2 separate regions of the Homo sapiens genome follow, and region 1 is linked to region 2. The links are contacts of gene promoters, found by promoter capture Hi-C in human tissues and cell types (Jung and others, 2019). All regions are on one chromosome and are shown on one strand. The core of a region is centred on a gene start or on the middle of the fragment in contact, and the rest is flanking DNA. Distances in the headings are between cores, read along the strand shown.

Evidence for each region. The method cuts DNA at HindIII sites, captures the fragments that hold promoters and counts their contacts. A contact is called where the count stands out against the background at its distance.
Region 1: a contact is called between the fragment with the promoter of TSKS here and the fragment with the promoter of IZUMO1 in region 2, in 1 of the 25 tissues and cell types used here (lymphoblastoid cells).

The regions. Positions count from the first base shown.
Region 1 is chr19:49,762,056-49,767,451 of GRCh38, forward strand. TSKS (testis specific serine kinase substrate) reads right to left here and starts at 1,251. Exons shown (of 11, transcript NM_021733.2): 1 at 1,023-1,251; 2 at 1-177. The coding sequence starts at 1,192. It overlaps AP2A1 (adaptor related protein complex 2 subunit alpha 1), which reads left to right and starts at 4,946. Exons shown (of 23, transcript NM_130787.3): 1 at 4,946-5,145. The coding sequence starts at 5,079. It also overlaps the pseudogene RNU6-841P. RefSeq lists enhancers at 1-4, 3,611-4,588, 4,642-5,396 and a silencer at 4,501-5,080. The HindIII fragment of the contact is 39,317 bases long and covers 1-5,396 here.
Region 2 is chr19:48,745,574-48,750,717 of GRCh38, forward strand. IZUMO1 (izumo sperm-oocyte fusion 1) reads right to left here and starts at 1,336. Exons shown (of 10, transcript NM_182575.3): 1 at 862-1,336; 2 at 52-359. The coding sequence starts at 286. FUT1 (fucosyltransferase 1 (H blood group)) reads right to left here. Exons shown (of 2, transcript NM_001384359.1): 2 at 2,438-5,144. The coding sequence ends at 4,611. RefSeq lists a cis regulatory region at 1-55 and enhancers at 831-1,616, 1,617-2,402. The HindIII fragment of the contact is 12,211 bases long and covers 1-5,144 here.

The DNA.
Region 1 (5,396 bases), core at 1-2,500, 1.0 Mb after region 2:
GCAGGGGGCCCAGCCAGTGTGAGTTGGCCGCTGAGGTCTTCCACTGTGGAGTCTGTCCCCGTGGAGTCAGTGGGCTCCATGGCGGCCAGGTTGAGCAGTGACACGTTGGTGCAGGCCGAGGACCGTTTGAGGTTCAGGCACCAGTGCATGGGCTGATGGGACATCTGGGGCTCCACCCTGCAGAGAAGAAACAGGCAGAAAAGTGGAGAAGCAGCCCCAGGGTGTCTGGGCCCTCCTGCCTTCCTTTCTCCATACCTCACCCCCTGTGACTCCACCCTCACTGTATATAAGTTTCTCCCTTCTCTGTCCCCGCTGCCTACTTTATTCTCCTTCCCTGTGCTGCCTACTTTCTTTCTTTTTTCTTTCTTTCTTTTTTTTTTTTTTTTGAGACAGAGTCTCACTCTGTTGCCCAGGCTGGAGTGCAGTGGCGCGATCTCAGCTCACTGCAACCTCCGACTGCGGGTCCCAGTTCAAGCAATTCTCCTGCCTCAGCCTCCTGAGTAGCTGGGGTTATAGGCATGTGCCATCACGCCCAGCTAATTTTAGTATTTTTAGTAGAGATGGCTTTTCACCATGTTGGCCAAGCTGGTTTTGAACTCCTGACCTCATGATCCACCTGCCTCGGCCTCCCAAAGTGCTGGGATTACAGGCGTGAGCCACCGTGCCCGACCACCACTGTCTACTTTCTTCTTCTCCTTCCCCGCTGCCTACTTTCTCCTCCCTTCTCTGCCACCTACTTTCTTCTTCATTCACTAGCCTCCCTTCTCCTTCTTCCCTCCCCACTGGCTTTTTCCTCTCTCCATCCATCCCCATTACCTTCTTCCTCCCTCCATCCATCCCCATTACCTTCTTCCTCTCTACCTCCCTGTGACTTGATGTCTCTTCACTGCTGCCCTCTTTCCTGCCCCCGACCTGCTGGCTTTTCCCCCTCCCCTTCCTCTAGCACCCACAGTCGGACTCCTGCTCTGTTGGAGGTAGTGCTGGGCATTAGAACCATCCCTGACAGTGTGCAACAAACCCACCCGTGGAACGACACGGCCTTCTTTTTCTTCGGGATCCCCTTGGCCCGGCTGGTCACCCTCCGGGGAGCCTCTGGGACTAGCTGGGAGCAGCTCTCCACCCCCGTGGGGGTGTCCCCGGCCTCATGGATCTCTTTGGACTGCCAGATCGTCTTCACCACCACGCTCGCCATGGTGTGGGGGTCTGGCTCCCAGGGAGGGGCTCCTTCCTCTGAGACTTCCTACCTACTGTGACCACAGACCCTCAGGATCCACTGTCCCCTCAGCCTGCCTCACAAAGGACCCAACCACTGGGCCCCAGTGAGTGGGGGGCACAGGGTAGGGAGAGATGCTGGCCCAGGTCATTCCCCTAGGGTTCTCAGTGGACTCCTCCTGTTCAGGATTCTAGTTACATGCCCAATGTGCCCCCCGTCTTCAGAGCTCCAGTGGATGGATTCATGCTAGCCTGTAACTTAACAATGGGTCGGCCCACGGATTCTTGGGAGAGGTCCAACTTCCCTCTCCCTGAGACTAAGCGTGGGGTCACACAGCCCTGTGCACTTGTTCTTGATTCTTCATGTAGCTTCCTGGATTTGACAATTGGCTGGGGTTTGAGAGACTGTGGTCGAAGAGGGCTGAGATCCAGACCCTGACCTGGAGGGTCTCATATTCTATGGGGCGTCGGGGTCGGGGGAAAGGCAATATACAGGTAGATCAACAAAAGAAAGCTAGGTGCGGTGGGCCTCGGGGTCAGGGTAGAAGGTGAGGGAGGAGAGGAAGGTAGAGAGTTGGGGCAGGACAGAGGGTGGTATCCCCCTCCCCCGTTTATTTATTTATTATTTTCTTTAATACTTTTTATTTTTTTTGAGACAGAGTCTCTCTCTGTCATGGAGGCTGGAGTTCAGTGGCGCGATCTCAGCTCATTGCAACCTCCACCTCCCGGGGTTCAACCGATTCTCCTGCCTCAGCCTCCCCAGTAGCTGGGACTACAGGCGCTGGCCACAATGTCCGGCTAATTTTTGTATTTTTAGTAGAGACGGGTTTCACCATGTTGGCCAAGTTGGTCTCAAACTCCCGACCTCAAATGGTCCACCCGCCTTAGCCTCCCAAAGTGTGGGATTACAGACATGAGCCACCATGCTCCGCTATAATTTTTTTTTTTTTTTTTTAGATGGAGTCTCGCTCTGACACCCAGGCTGGAGTGCAGTGGCGTGATCTTGGCTCATTGCAACCTCTACCTCCCAGTTTCAAGCGATTCTCCTGCCTCAGCCTCCTGAGTAGCTGGGACTACAGGTACCTGCCACCACACCCATCTAATTTTTTTTTTGTATTTTTAGTAGAGACAGGGTTTCACTGTGTTGGCTAGGCTAGTCTCCAACTCCTGACCTCGTGATCTGCCCACTTCAGCCTCCCAAAGCATTGGAATTACAGGTGTGAGCCACTGCGCCCCGCCCGCCCAAAGTATTTAAAAAATATATGGAACATGTCACAAATTTGCATGTGGTCTTTGCGCAGGGCCCATGCTAATCTTCTCTGTATCGTTCCAATGTTAATACATGTGCTGTCGAAGCGAGCACTGCCCTGCTATTTAGGGACAGACTTTTCCTGTTCTCTTCACACTTCTCAAAAAGACTAGTTCAAACATCACTGCTAATAGACATTTTAAATGCTGTTATCCCCAGGGAGAAAGTACTTCTTCCTGGTCATGAATGGACTCCAGTTCTTGGAACACTTAATCTTTCTATAATAAAGAACTCCTGGCTGGGCGCGGTGTCTCACACCTGTAATCCCAGCACTTTGGGAGGCCGAGGCGGGCGGATCACCTGAGGTTAGGAGTTCAAGACCAGCCTGGCCAACATAGTGAAACACTGTCTCTACAAAAATACAAAAATTAGGCGAGCATGATGACGGGTGCCTGTAATCCCAGCTACTTAGGAGGCTGAGGCAGGAAAATCGCTTTAACTCGGGAGGAAGAGGTTACAGTGAGCCGAGATTGAGTCACTGAACTCCAGCCTGGGGGACAGAGAGAGACTCTGTCTCAAAAAAAAGAAAAAAAAAAAAGGCCGGGCGCAGTGGCTCACGCCTGTAATTCCAGCACTTTGGGAGGCCGAGGTGGGCGGATCACAAGGTCAGGAGATCGAGACCATCCTGGCTAACACGGTGAAACCCCGTCTCTACTAAAAACACAAAAAATTAGCCAGGCATGGTGGCGTGCGCCTGTAGTCCCAGCTACTTGGGAGGCTGAGGCAGGAGAATGGCGTGAACCCGGGAGGCGGAGGTTGCAGTGAGCTGAGATCGCGCCACTGCACCCCAGCCTGGGCGACAGAGCGAGACTCCATCTCAAAAAAAAAAAAAAAGAACTTCAAGTCCTGGGATTAATAATTTTTCTTGTGTTTAATGGGGCTGCTTTATGTTCTTCAGGGGCAAACAGCACCCCCCTCCCATATTAGAAATGGACTCTCCCTGTGACTAAAACAGCTGAGCAATTTCTGTCCTCCTGGAATCCAAAATGGACTTTCCCAGGCCCCATTCCTGGAAACCCAAATGGACGCATCCATTGAGCCTGGAAGGTGGGCTCTTCTCAACCTCCTTTCCATCTCCCAGGATTCAGAATGGCCATTCCAAAGGTCCAGAACACACCCCCAAGGCTCATTCCAGGAATTCTTGGCTTCTGAGATTAGAAAAGGCTGATGGGGTGGAGTTTTGTTCCTACAGGTGACAGAAATGGACTCTTCCAGTTCCCTTTGTCCCAAATTTCTCAATCTCCTGGGGCGTTGGGAGTTCTGGCCGTTTTGCCTTCCCCAAAGCCAGTTTACCAAAGAGTCTCTGGGGAGCTGGGGGTTGGGGATGGAGGCTGGGGCTGGGCCAAAGCAGATTCACCTATTTCTTCTTTTAACAAATGTTGTTGAAACTGTTCAAGGCCAGGTCCCATTCTTGCCCAGAAGGAGTTCCCAGTCTGGAGGAGACAATCAATTTTGGTTTGATATCTGCTACAATGGAGGCTGCCCGAGAGACACTGCGGTTGGACAAAAAAAAAAAGGCAACATATATTGAAAAGTAAGCCAAGATACGGTTTACGTTTATTTCTGCTTTTTCACTTCCAAGCTGTGTGGCCCTGGGCAAGTCATTCGCCCTCTCGACCTAAGTTTTAACTTCTGCTTAATGGGACTAGCCTTGAATTACTGTTTTTCACTCTGAGATTCTAGGTCTCCTGACAACTCAAGTCCCGACACGTTGGCTGCAGAGAAGGGGGGAGGGGAGGAAGGCTTCCTAGAAGAGGATTTCAGCAGTCGGGGGTGACAGTGGAGGGAGAAAGGGAACACGGAGACGCTTGCGCAGTAAACACCGCACGCTCTCTTGCCTCGCCCAACCCCTTCTCTGCAGCAGGGAATTGCAGGCGTCGCTCCACCTATCCCAGCCGAGCGGAGTGACACCCTCCCCTCTTTCCTTCTCTACTGATCTTCGCCTTCCGCCCGCCCCACAGCCGCCCAATGGAGGGCTGAAGTAGGACAGATCTCGCCAATCCGCGACGCCTGCGGGGCAGGTCTACCCGTTCATTGGTCCCAGTCAACCTAAGTCCCGCCTCCTAGGACCGTTCCCCGCCTTCCTTCACGTCCCTCCCTTCCTCCTTGGAGAGCCGCTAGATCCAATCAGTGTTTGACCTGGCCGCGCGGAGGGGGCGGGCCCATGATACGCAATCGAACCCCGCCCGTCTCTCGGGCAACGCCTCCTCCCCCCCCTCCCCAGCTCCCAAACGGAAATAGCGGAACACTGGGCCAATCGTAGCGTCGTGCCTTTGCTTGGCGGCCAATGAGAGAGGAAGTGGGGGAGAAACCCGCCTGTGAGCGGCAGGAGCTCAAGCCAGTGGGCGGCTCAGAGCTCCGGACCGCGGGCGGAGGGGAGGGGCAGGGGGCGGTGCCACGGCCTGCCAGCCCGCCCGCCCGCCCGCCAGCCAGCCCTCCCCGCGGCCGGCTCGGCTCCTTGGCGCTGCCTGGGGTCCTTTCCGCCCGGTCCCCGCTTGCCAGCCCCCGCTGCTCTGTGCCCTGTCCGGCCAGGCCTGGAGCCGACACCACCGCCATCATGCCGGCCGTGTCCAAGGGCGATGGGATGCGGGGGCTCGCGGTGTTCATCTCCGACATCCGGAACTGTGAGCGCGCGGCCGGGGGACACTGGAGACGCGGGGGAGGGGGGAGCGTGAAATTGAGGGGTTTGGGGATCACAGAGGGACCCGGGGGATCAAAAGCCTCTGCGGCCGTATAGGGACAGCATAGATGGGCCCCAGGAAGAACTTTAGAGTGGGGGGCACGTAGGGGCTTGGGGTGTCATAGAGTGCCTCTTGAGGTGACGACACGGAGTAGCTAGAGGGGTCCGGGAGGGCTTGAAAGGGGAGGAAGCCAG
Region 2 (5,144 bases), core at 86-2,585:
ATCTCCCTCCTTTCCCAGGACCCAGGGGTCCGTGGTCCCCCCTGCCCTCACCAACGACCCCCATATAGGCATCCTCATTAAGCGACAGTTCCTGGAAATCCTTCACGGCATTCTCTACCCTTTCCATCATGGCTTTGTGATGCTTCGCATCCAGGTGGCCAGGCAGGTAATCTTTCTCCAGGGACTTTAGCGCCAGCACGACAGACGGGTCACATATAACACACCCCTCGGCAGGAAGCAAGCAACCGGCCAGCGCCGCACACAGGAGGGTAAAATGCGGCCCCATTGCAGCCGGCGCGCACAGTTCCCGAAGACCGTTAGGAAGGGTGCTCTCACCCCAAACCGAGAGCAGGAGAACGCTAAACGGAGAAAAGCCAAAATCCATCTTAAGAAATCCCACTGGGCCGCCTATCCATGGGGTCCGCAAACCTCGAAAAGAGGATCTTCAGGAAATCTCCAAATAAAGAGGACCTATGTCCTTCATCAAATGCCTCCGAAGTGTGAAACTGAGCCCCAATCCAGGGGACCCAAAATTTAGGGTTCTCACTGAATCCCCCAACTGAGAGATCAGAAAAACTATTAAACAGGAATCACTCATAAGTCCCCAAACTCAGAACCTGGAATCTCCCAACCCCATGCGCCCCTTCCCAAAATCCCAAACTGTGGAATTTTCCAAGTCCCCAGATTGACGTGAGCCTGAACTCCAACCCTTAAGAGCAACACCGAGGCACTCCCCCGCCAGCCCCCCAAAACCTGTTGAACCTCAAGCTGAAGATTCAATGCCCAAACCAATAAACATCTAACACAGACCCAACCACGATATTATCAAACTCGGAACTCCTTCAAAACCAAAACACATACCAGATTCCTAGAACTGAGGACCCCACTAACACTTAAGCGAGACTCCATGCGGTCCTCTAGACCTAGGGGGCCCTTGTTCACCCTTCCCCAAAACTAACGGGCTCCCAATTTGCAGGGCGCACCCTTCCGCTTAGAAAAAGGAGCCCCGATGCATCCTGAACAGTGATGCACCCTAAACAGCCGCTCCCCGACCTTGGTTCCCGATTTGTGGCCTCTAACACTAGGGTTCATTGAGGAGCCCGGTCCAGGTTCTGAGGGCTTTTAAAGAGGAAGCCGGGGTCATGACCACCTACGCTAATTTTCCCAGGGGTAAAATCAAGGATTGTGTTGGGGACGAGGGTAAGGTTGGTTGCGTGAAATCGAGAGCTTTTCGACGGGGTCTGAGTCACGGACGATCCCCTCTCCACAAGGAACTCCTGAAACCACCCCCTCCGAGCTTCTCACGTAGGGGCCCGAATTCCTTTATAGATATTCCTTGGGGTTTTCCTCGGCCCCACCCAGAAACTCAACTCTGTCTGATTGGACTGCAACAAAGGGAGGTCCCGCCCATCGCTCCATGACGTCACAGAGGCTGCAGCCTTTTTGGACTAGAATTTTCCCAGCATCTAGGGAAGAGGAAGCCTCCTGACTACTCTGGCTTCCAGAGTCAAGGACCGGACTCAGGCCTTCAGTTTCCTCCCCTCCCCTTGCCCCAGGACCCAGGCTTTGGGCTAGATCCGGCCCCCCAGGCCGCTGCCGCCCCCACCGCGGTCCTTGGAAACGGCTGTCGAGCCACGAAGTGGACATTTTAGCCCTAAGACTACAACTCCCAAAATGCCCTGGGGCCTCTTTCTCTGTAGCTGACTGACGCTGCCAACCTCATAGCTTTCCGGGAAATGTAGTTCAGTGATAATCCGCTCCCTCCTCCGCCTCTTCTGCCCACGCGGAGGTCCCAGTGGGAGGAGAGGACTGGGGGCCAATACTGACAGTCCAGGAGTGAGCAACTGGGGGCTCAGACGTTAGGGTCCTGGAAGGTCTCTCTCTCCTGTGTGATAGAAACAGGGAACCAGAAAAACAGGGACCACAACTCACACAAGTCCAGCAACAAGGGGCTGTCAGATCTAAGTAGGGACAGTACTCCCAATCACGAGTAATAAAAATCCTCAGGGCCCGGCGCGGTGGCTCACGCTTGTAATTCCAGCGCTTTGGGAGGCCGAGGCGGGCAGATTGTCTGAGGTCAGGAGTTCGAGGCCAGCCTGGCTAACATGGTGAAACCCCGTCTCTACTAAAAATACAAAAATTAGCTGGGCATGGTGGCGAACGTCTGTAGTCCCAGCTACTTGGGAGGCTGAGGCACCAGAATCCGAGAGGTGGGAGTTTGCAGTGGGCCGAGATCACACTACTGCACTCCAGCCTGGGCCACAGAGCAAGACTCGATCTCTGAAAAAAAATAAATTAATTAAAAAAAAATAAAAGTCTTCAGAAGTACCCCACCTTTTCCTCCACTCTCTTACACACACACACACACACACACACACACAAACCCACACACACATACACAGTGGCTCTGGCTCCAAAAAAGCTACAGAGACACGGGTTAGTGCTGTAGACTTTTAATTCATACCTCCTGCTCTCTCACCCGTGGCAGCTGAGTTGGGAACAGTACTGTAACAATTGTAACTGTAACTCCCTGATAAGCCTACAGGCATGGGGTCTGGATGAGTAGACAGGGGATGTGATCAGAGCTGACTATGTTTAAGGTTTCTTCTTTCACCCTCCAAAAAACAGCAAGGGGCTCCTGAGATCTCGACAACCCCGTCCACCTTGGCCAGACCTCGTGCTCCTGCCTGGATCTGAGGCTGGGTCCAGGGTCTGCCTACCTTTAGATCGTTTTATCTCAGACCTGCCCAAAGCCAGATGTAGTGGTTCTGGGAGTTCAGGGACAGACAGTGGTTAGCAATGAGCACGGTACCTGCCAGTTTGTCACAAGCACAGAGGGTGTGTTTATACCTGCACACTTCCAGAAAACAGATCCCAGACCCTCAGCAGCCCACCTGCAGACAAAGACCAACTTCCTTCATTGTGAGAGGCAACCTGAACTCACACCCAATATATGGAGCTCTTGGCAGTTTATGAGCTTTAAAAAAAAGTGTCCCTGGATCCCTGGAAAGTTCTGCTCCAGAAGCTGTACCATTTTGGCAGTGATCCCTCACCCCACGTTCACATTTTAGCCTGTCTGCTCAAAACAAACAAAAAAAAGTCTTTGAGGGGCTGTGGGGCTTGTTGGACAGAGTCCCGCTCTGCTCACCAACTACCCCAGCTTTTCCAGAGACTGTGAACAGAGCAAGACGCTGGCCAACTAGAGATGGTTTGTTTTCCATCTCAATTTTTCCAGCAATGGTGGAACATTCATTAGATGCTACAATTAGGTTGCACATTCATTAGATTCTTCACTTGGCCCGGTGTGCTGGCTCACATCTATAAACCCAGCATTCTGGGAGGCCAAGGTGGGAGGACTGCTTGAGCCCAGGAGTTGAAGAACAGCCTGGGCAATATCACAAGACCTCGTCTCTACAAAAATTAAAAAAAATTATCCGGGCCAGGCATGGTGGCTCACGCCGGTAATCCCAGCACTGTGGGAGGCCGAGGTGGGCAGATCACGAGGTCAGGAGATCGAGACCATCCTGGTTAACACGATGAAACCCCGTCTCTACTAAAAATACAAAAAAAATTAGCCGGGCGTGGTGGCGGGCGCCTGTAGTCCCAGCTACTCAGGAGGCTGAGGCAGAATGGCATGAACCCGGGAGGCAGAGCTTGCAGTGAGCTGAGATCGCGCCACTGCACTCTGGCCTGGGCTACAGAGCAAGACTCCGTCTCAATAAATAAATAAATAAATAAATAATTAAAAAAAAAATATCCGGGCTGGGCACAGTGGCTCATGCCAGTAATCCCAGCACTTTGGGAGGCCAAGACAGGTGGATGACAAGGTCAGGAGATCGAGACCATCCTGGCCAACATGGTGAAACCCTGTCTCTACTAAAAATACAAAAATTAGCCAGGCATAATGGCCTGTGCCTGTAGTCCCATCTACTCAGGAGGCTGAGACAGGAGAATCGCTTGAACACAGGAGGCGGAAGTTGCAGTGAGCCAAGATCACGCCACTGCACTCCAGCCTGGGCAACAGAGCGAGACCCTGTCTCCAAAAAAAAAAAAAAAAAACTAAAAAGATTCTTCACCTTAGTTATCTGGATTTCCAGAACCCCATCCTGTCCATAAGGGCCCTGCAGGGTTCTTCACAGGCATCAAACCTGGTCCTCTCTAGAACAAGTCTCCCTCTAGAATCACTCCAGAAACACAGAAGGGGACTTGGTGAATGCTTGCTCTGGAGCAATCATATGCTCCTTCAGTCTTTGGAGGACCCAGGGGAGAAGTAACCCCTCTTCTAGAGTAGACCAGAGGGAGAGTTCCCCATTCCTGGGGGCAGCCATCTGGAAGTACTGTAGATATGGGCTGGGAAGAGCAGGTGGGCACTGTGGCTTCTAGAACTGCCTGCCAGCCATCAGGAAAAGATGTTTTGCTAGTTCTAGAATATTCAGACAGTTCCAGAAACGTCCCCCTTCTCTCCAACTCTCCCAACTAGAATCACTCTGGATACGGGCACCCATTTGCTTCAGGAACACCACAAGCTTCTCCAGAAGATGCCAGGCCTCTGAAGCCACGTACTGCTGGCTCTAGAAAGATCAGGCTACTTCAGAAAGTCTCCCTGGCTCTCAAGGCTTAGCCAATGTCCAGAGTGGAGACAAGTCTGCATTAATGCCCACCCACTCGGGCAGGAAGGCCGCCTCCGGCTTAAAGATCTTCAGGAACTCAGAGTCTGGCAGGGTGAAGTTGGCCAGGTAGACAGTGTCTCCGCCAGCCAGGTAGGCAGCCCAGAAGCCGAAGGTGCCAATGGTCATAATGGTGTGGTTGCACTGTGTGAGCAGGGCAAAGTCTTTCCACGGTGTAGCCTCCTGTCCATCGCCAGCAAACGTCACATCGCCCTGGGAGGTGTCGATGTTTTCTTTACACCACTCCATGCCGTTGCTGGTGACCACGAAAACGGGGGCTTCGTGCCGTGCCCGGAACCAGTCCATGGCCTGCCGGAGGTAGGCGCTGTCGCCCACCACACCCTTCCAGCGCTGAGGCATAACCTGCAGATAGTCCCCACGGCGCACGTGGACGCCGACAAAGGTGCGCGGGCGGTCCCCTGTGCGGCCCAGGCGGAGCTGACCCAGCACACTCTGCGCCTCTTCCCGAAGGTGGTC